Linked DNA regions of Homo sapiens: region 1 is linked to region 2. Evidence: promoter capture Hi-C in human tissues and cell types (Jung and others, 2019). All regions are on one chromosome and are shown on one strand. Each heading gives the region's core, a stretch centred on a gene start or on the middle of the fragment in contact. The rest is flanking DNA. Distances are from core to core; before and after follow the strand shown. Region 1 overlaps ANKS1B (ankyrin repeat and sterile alpha motif domain containing 1B). Region 2 holds the start of ANKS1B (ankyrin repeat and sterile alpha motif domain containing 1B).

What was found. The method cuts DNA at HindIII sites, captures the fragments that hold promoters and counts their contacts. A contact is called where the count stands out against the background at its distance.
Region 1: a fragment that was not itself captured here is called in contact with the fragment with the promoter of ANKS1B in region 2 in 1 of the 25 tissues and cell types used here (small bowel).

The regions. Positions count from the first base shown.
Region 1 is chr12:99,934,925-99,938,976 of GRCh38, reverse strand. The region is part of intron 1 of ANKS1B (ankyrin repeat and sterile alpha motif domain containing 1B); the gene reads left to right. Among named protein-coding and RNA genes, the nearest start is that of ANKS1B, 48 kb to the left of the region's middle. The HindIII fragment of the contact is 4,624 bases long and covers 319-4,052 here.
Region 2 is chr12:99,982,933-99,986,835 of GRCh38, reverse strand. ANKS1B (ankyrin repeat and sterile alpha motif domain containing 1B) reads left to right here and starts at 1,900. Exons shown (of 27, transcript NM_001352186.2): 1 at 1,900-2,732. The coding sequence starts at 2,599. RefSeq lists a silencer at 1,878-1,927 and an enhancer at 2,040-2,870. The HindIII fragment of the contact is 20,528 bases long and covers 1-3,903 here.

The DNA of each region.
Region 1 (4,052 bases), core at 1,381-3,880, 49 kb after region 2:
CATATATTTTTACTTTTTTGGATTAAGTGGGAATGACAGTTTTCTTCTACACCTTAAGCTTGCCCTCTCTACCAGCGTCTGCGGGGCCGCTTGATCCTTCAAATTTCTCATTTTTACCTAACAGGCCTGATGGCTCATTCTGAGCATTTAGTCGGGAAATGGAAGGTCCTTACTCTCTGAGAATGTACAAGGCAGGAATTAGCAGCTGATCTTTAGTTTTTGATCTGTTAATTGGGCAGCCATACTGGCTATTTTGGCAATATTGGTGGCAAATTGCCGCTTGAATCTTACAAAAGGGTCTGGCTGTGTGACCAACTCTGGTTTTCTCTAGCATGTGGGCTGGGGATTTCATGTCACCAGTGGTGACTGGATGTTCAGAATACTTGAGTTTACCTCTTATGATATGTTAGCAACTTGAATAATATAAGAAGAAAGATGTGTTAGTCATCTATTGTTGTATAACAATATTATCATAAACTTAGTGGCTTAAAGCAATGTGTACTTGTTGTCTCATAGTTTTTGGGGCCAGGAGTCAGGGCACAGCTGACTTGAATCCTCTGCTCAAGGTCTCACAAAGCTTCAATCAACATATTTGCCAGTACTTAGTTCTCAACTGGGGCTCAATTAGGGAAGGAGATGTTTTCAAGCTCATTTCAGCTGTTGGCAGAATTTAATTCCTGTGGTTGTAGGACTGAGGGTTTCAATTTCTTGCTGGCTATCAGTCCAGAGCCAGCTTCAGCAACTAGAATCGTCCTGCAGTTCCTGGCCATATGGCCACTTGCTTCCTTAAAGCCGGTAAAAGACAGAGACTCCAACAAAATGGGTATGACAAGTTTGTGTAACATAATCACATAGTCATGTACATGTATCCCATCTGTCGTGTCACCTTTGCTTATTCTTTTGACTAGAAACAAGCCACAGGTCCTGCCCATACTCAAGGGGAGGGATCACAATGGTGCATGGAAACTAGGAAATGGGGATTATGAGGATTGTGTTCAGAGCCCACCTGACATCAGAAGAGAAAGGAAAATTGGGTCGATTCTGCTCCCAGGATTTTCTTTTCACTTATTATATATAACTTGAGGGCAGGATTCATGACTGATTTATCATGTATCTTCTCTTTGCTACCATCACCCACCTACTAGACAATGTGTTACACTTAGTAGAAACTCAGTTGGTACTTGCAGGCTTAACTGTTATGCTATAAATCTAGTATCAAAGAAAGAAAATAAATACCCCTTTTCTCAGAAGAAGGTATCCTAGTGCTCTACATGTATTTAATTTGGGAGAATACAGATCACCTTGTTAAATCAGTGTAGCAATATGATAGCTGTTTGAAGATTTGGAACCATATGCCACGTTGTCAGGAAAGACTAGCAACTGTATCAGGAGGCCTTCTTTTCATAGTGTTCTACTTCTTTGTCTATCAGCATTGCCTCCCAATCAGCAGGCAAAATTATCAAGGGCTTTTGATTTTTGTCTGTGAGAAGAATATAAGCTGCCAGATCAAAGGAGAAGTGGGTATTTCTAACTCTGAGACTTGTTTTCCTAAATAATCATATTCAACATTGTAGAAATATTAATTATGTGTATACTTATTGACCATGTAGCTGTAGAATTGACATTTTGCTTACACCAAAGCTATGCTGTTTGTTTTTCTTCTTTCTTGGGTAGTTAAGATGGAGGTTACTTTCCAACTTTGGCCTGGCAGAATGGCCCCTGCAGAGAAGGGTGGGAAGAAGAAGGGCTCTCCTGCTGTCAATGAGGTGGTGACACAAGAATACACCATCAACACTCAGAAGCACATCCATGAGTGGGCTTCAAGAAGCATGCCCCTGGGGCACTCAGAGAGATCCAGAAATTTGCCATCATGAAGGAGATGGGAACTCCAGATGTGCGTATTGATAACAGGTTCAACAAAGCTGACTAGGCCTAAGGTTAAGGGATGTCCCATACTGTATCCATATGTGGTTGTCCAGAAACATAATGAGGATGAAGGTTCCCAAGCAAGCTGTATACTTTGGTTACCTATGTACCTGTTTCCACTTTAAAAAATCTATAGTCATTCAGTGTAGATGAGAACAAACTACTGATCATTGAATACATCAAATAAGGTTATAAAACTGCAAAAACAAAGTTGGAAGCTATATAACCATTGAATACTTACACTTTTCTAGTGTGAATTTATGCAAGGTCACAAAAGTAATGGCTGAAAATAGCGGGAAAAAAGTAATAAAGAGGCTAGGTCTTTGTGGAGTGAGGAGGACCTTAGTAAGTTAAATATTAATCTAACAGTAACAGACAAGGCAGCCAAGAGTACAGCAAACAGAGGTAGGAATGGTTTATATTGAATAAAAGACTGCGAAGGGAGAAGTAGATATTCCCAGTCAGTAACATAGGCCTTATAATAAATGAGTACCACAAATAGCCAAAGAGTAGACAGTTACCAAATATGGGAGGTTTCTCAGTTGCAACTGTAATTATCCATTTTTTTAAGAGATGGGGTCTTGCCATATTGGCCAGGCTGGTCCTGAACTCCTGGCCTCAAGTGATCCTCCCATCTTGACCTCCCAAAGTGCTGGGATTACAGGTGTGAGCCACTGTGCCTGGCCTAATTATCCCTGTGTATTTTACAAGTAGCATAACGTTTGGAGACAGAAATATAGGATGGAAAACTATTTAATTTTGGCTTAGCTTTTGAGAATTTTTGTTCTCATCTTCTGTTACCAGCTATGCTTGGCAGAATTCTAGGATGGCTCCCAAGATTCTCACCTGATATGGTTTGGCTCCATGTCCCCACCCAAATCTCACCTTGGATTGTAATCCTCATAATCCCCATACATCCAGGGCAGGACCAGGTGGAGGTAATCAGATCATGGGGTTGGTTTCCCCCATGCTGTTCTTGTGATAGTGAGTCTCGCAAAATCTGATCATTTTATAAACATCTGGCATTTCCCCTGCTTGCACTCATTCTTTCTCCTGCTGCCCTGTGAGGAGGTGCCTTCTGCCATGATTGTAAGTTTCCTGAGGCCTCAGCCATGCGGAACTGTGAGTCAATTAAACTTCTTTTCTTTATAAATTATCCAGTGTCAGGTATTTCCTTATAGCAATGTGAGAATGGACTAATACGTCATCCTATAGGGTACACATCCTGTAGAGTCACTTGTGATGAGGTCACTAATCAGTTGACTTTAAGTCAGTTAAGAGGGCCATTATCTGGGTGGGCCTGATCTAATCAAGTGAGCCTTTAAAAGGGATTGGGTTTTCTCTGAAGTTAGAAAGATTCAAATCTTGGGAGCATTAGAGGGCTTATTGAGGGACTACTAGGCAGGGAATCGCTGGTGGCATCTAGAAGTTGAGAGTGGCTCCTGACTGACAGCAAGAAAATGGGTGAGTGTCTGTCTTAAAACTGCAGGGAAATGAATTATGTCAGCAACCAGTGATGTTAAAAGAGGGCCCTATGCTTAAGAGGAAACCATAGTCTTGGTGGACATTTTGATTTCAGCCTGTGAGACCCTGTGTAGAGGACCTAGCTAATTCAGACTCCTGACCACAAAACCTGTGAGATGGTAAATGTGCGTTCTTTAAGATGCTAACTGTATAGTTTTTTTTTTTTTTTGTCAGGCATCTACAGAAAAAGAACACATCCTTATATGCAGCCTAAGCTTCTAAACTATCACTTTTCTAAACACGCCCCATCCCTTCCCAACTTTGTGGCTATAGTCAGGTGTTCTCTTCCCTGGAATGATTTTTGTTATATATCTATTCTACCCATCCATCTCATGGACCACCCCCTTATTGGTACTTACTCTGCTTCTGTAGGTGAATAGGATCTTTCTATCCTTTGAATATCAAGTGTAATTTATATCTCTTACGTTTAACTTTGTTTTGTAAAAGTTATTTTATATATGGTTTATGCTTTTTAATTTATTTATCGGAATAGAAAGGACTGTATATACATTCAAATATTCCAACAGTGGGAAATAGTATATAATGAAAATTAAGTGCTCTTATCCCAGATCACCAGTCCCCCAGTCCTCTGACCCAAAGGC
Region 2 (3,903 bases), core at 651-3,150:
TATCCTCTTCAACAAAAAACTATGAGGTGCAGTCACTGCAATGTCTACAGAAAAACAAAGTTATGAGGTCACTAAAACCAAAGAGTTTGAAGCTGAAAAATTGGCTTTGATTATCATATGTCAGTAGAATGCCCGAACTGTGGAACTGATTCTTAGAGTAAATCATTACTAATGGTTTTCCCATTGGGGGTGGGGGCTGCATGATTTCGATAAGATGACTCGGGGCCTGCGGTCACCAACTCATCCATGATTAAATGTTGCTTGTGAAAACTGTGGGTGATTTTCAGTTCTGACCAATTGAATACTTACAGTATATTCTGGGAAAGGTGTGTTTTGCTTAGGTGGCAACATTAGGAAAAAGGAAGAAGGATTTCCCTATGCCATTTTCAAAATGAATGTGATGGCTCCTTATCTCGTTTCTTTCATTGGTCTGCTAGTCCCATTATGTCAGGGATTATATTATTATAACATAGATTATCTTATTAAAACAGATTCTAACACAGAAAACAAAATCAAAATGAATTAAAAAACTACACTAGCCAAAATCTACATACTTCAGGAAACCTCCAATAAATAGCCATAATTTACCTAATATTTTGAATCATTGAAATGAAATCTCAGAACACAATGAATTCCATAAAAATGTTTTAATATACTCTTGTTATTTATCTCTAAATGCCTTTTAAGTTTCCCCCAGTTATTTATTGAAAATCTTTGCCTACAGCAGACAGTGCCGGATTTGAGCCTTGGCTCAGTTACTTTCTATCCCTATTATCTTGCGGGTAATCAGTTTCTTCATCTCCAAAATAGAGATGAAAATGGTCCTATCTCATGCGATTGTTGCAAGGCTTAATGAGAACATGGAAAGCACTTAGCATAGTGTCTGGTATGTAGCAACTACTCATCAAATGCATGCAATAATTATTGTCTGTCCATTTCGCTTTTCCATGGGGGGCAGGAACGTATATTGGGAAGCACATGGTGTCTGGAGTGAGTCTGTTCTGGGGTCTAGTTCTGAGTCAGCCACTTACTCCATGTGGCATCTTGAGAAATTTAATTAACCATTTGAGCCCTATTTCCTCATTTCTAAAATGGATATAATAATATCCAGTTCACTGGGTTGTTGTAAGCACAGTGCCTATTAAGTCCTCTTCTTACCAATCAATTATCAACAAGTGAACATTTATGAAGTCTATTCCAAGGACAATGCAAAGCACAAGGTGTAACAGGAAGTTTTAATAGAAAATAAACGCGCGTTCTCCACCACGGCCAAGGAGAGCATCTAACAAGTCATGCCAACCATGCACAATGAATTGCTGATGATATATGCAAATTAAAGTGGATCTCTAATCCATGCCCATTTATATTTTTCGAGTGTAGATGTGGATAAATTTTCAATGAGAGCCTTTTTCCTGGTATTCTTACAAGTCAGCAGATCTCCAAAGCCCAACTAAAATATGGGCTGATTAAAGACTCCAGAAAAACTGAAACAGTCGCAAACTGCTCGGTGGCCAGTGCCACAGAAACTAGGACGAAACGAGCCTCTTCTTTCTAACCAAGGGCAGATCTCAGGCTCTCTTGGGGAGGTAAAGCGGAAGGGTGAAATGCCGGTCAAGTTGCCTAGACTCTGATGGAAGCGGTGGCCAAAGGGCCCCTCCCCAGTGTCACCAGCCTCCCCATTCCTGTCACGGAGGATTTTCCTCAGGCGTCGTGACAGACCCGAGGCGTGTTGCCGGGGCCCGCCGGGCCGAGGAGGAGCCGACGCGGCCCGGGGAACTCCAGTCCTCACACGGTTAACGCTCTTCCAAGGAGAGTGGAGGAGGGAGGGTCCCCGCCCACGAGAACGAAGAGAATCTCAGGGCCGAAGCCCCGCCTCAGCCGGCCCGGCCCCTCCCCGCCAGCCCGCCACCCAACTCGGGCCGCACCAGGGGCCGCACCTGCCCGCGCGCACACGCCCCCCGCGCGCCAGGCCTCGCCGCCGCCGCCGCCCTCGGCACGCGCCCGCTGCGGCTGCCCCCCACCGCCCTGCCTCGGCGCGGGCCACAGCGCACGAGCCGCCGCCGCCGCCGCCGCGCTCCTCCCCGCCGCGGACGCCGCCCCCGCGTAACCGCCGAGGAAGCCGAGGCGAGCCCGGGTCGGGCGCGAGGGCGCGCGGGCCGCTGCTGCCACCGCGGGTGTTCCCTGCGCTCCCGCTCCAGCTAGGACTCTCTCTGCCGCCTCCTCCTCCTCCTCCGACCTCAGTCCTCACCACCCTCCTCCCGCTCCTCAAAAGCACCCCCGAGTCCCCACCCCCTCACGCCGCACCCGCGGGAACGAGGCCTTGGGAATTCAGGGGAGTGGCTGTGGGGGCGCGTCGCGGCTCCCAGCTCGGCCAGCCCCTCTTTCAAGACATGGTCTGATCCCCATTGTAAAAGCTGCGCCCCGAAGAGGAGGAGAGAGTCGTGCTCCCTGCCTGGGGCTGCAGGGAGCTCTCCGTGCTGAAGCTCTTGCATTATTTTAGGGTGGGGCGAAGAGGGCCCTGGATTTTGGGGAGTGGGGGTGGGTGGGGAGGAGGACCCGAGGGGGGCAAGGACTCTGTGGGGGAGTCGGTGAGAGACTATGGGGAAGGACCAGGAGCTGCTGGAAGCTGCTCGCACTGGAAATGTGGCTCTGGTGGAGAAACTCCTGTCTGGCAGGAAAGGAGGGATCCTGGGCGGTGGATCCGGACCCCTGCCCCTGTCTAATCTGCTAAGGTAAGGACGGGCACCAGCTCCGGGGTTGGCACACCTCATTATGCATTGTGATGGATATACGTCCTCCTCCTCACGGTTATTGCACCTGGTGGCTGCCAGCGATTCATTCTTAAATTAGGTAGGAAAACAGACTGCGTGTATGGAGAGGAGGTATGAGCCTCCCAGTCAGATTGATGCCTTAGATTCTTTGAGTAATTTTAAAATAGCCTTCCATCAATGCGTCAGTAAGCTACTTTTCCTCTGAGCCCTGGTGCAGAACTTGTACATGTACTAGTGTTGCTTGAAGAAAATCGACGTTCCGCCCGCTTTCCATCAACATTTATTACATATTTGCAGCTTTGAACGCAGCCTTTTTTGTCTAGTTAAATGAAATTGGCAGAGAATCTCTTGCGTGCATGCAATTACCCTGCAAAAGCCACAGCCTTCGGTGGCTCCTACCTTCTCTTGCAGAAGGCGTTTGCTGTGCCGTGGGTTATGATCCCACAAAATGAAGTGAGTGAACCTTCTTTCTGGTGAGATGTCTTCAGCACAGGGTGTGTATAAAACTTGATGGGGCAGGTTAGGCAGCCCCAGCAATACTTTCAGTTACCTGGACATAGCTGAGTGAAACTTGGTTGTTATAGCTCAGGATGAAGGATGCCAGGTTGGTATTGGGATACTGTATATGGAGTACGGTAGAGGCCTTTTAACGTGAAGATGTCGTAGGTGAGACTGGTATTGCTTGGAGAATCTTTCTAAGATGACATTTAAAAAAAATGTCAAGGTCTTCATTCAGCAGTACCTTGGAAATAGCGGGGTTGATTTCCATACTTGAGAAACTATTAAAAGTTGTATTGATGGACAAATGAAATCAACTGGGAGGGAGGAAGCCTGGAGAGTATTCACTAGATACAATTCAAGGGAAGCTCTTTAGTTTCTAAAATCGTGGCTATCCAATTTATCCTGGGTATTTTTGGAGTCATCAATTGTCATTCATATCTTCGCCTTAAAACATCTCTTGGATAACCCAACTATAGTTGTAAAAATTTTAGAAAGCCCAAGTGATTTCCCTGGTTTTTTAAAAACTGTTCCATGCTACCCTTGACAAGTGCTTAATAGAAACTTTTGGGTGATGACATTGCGTTCTTTACACAAGTTCTCATAGGTTGTGGTGGTCAGACAGTGCAATTAA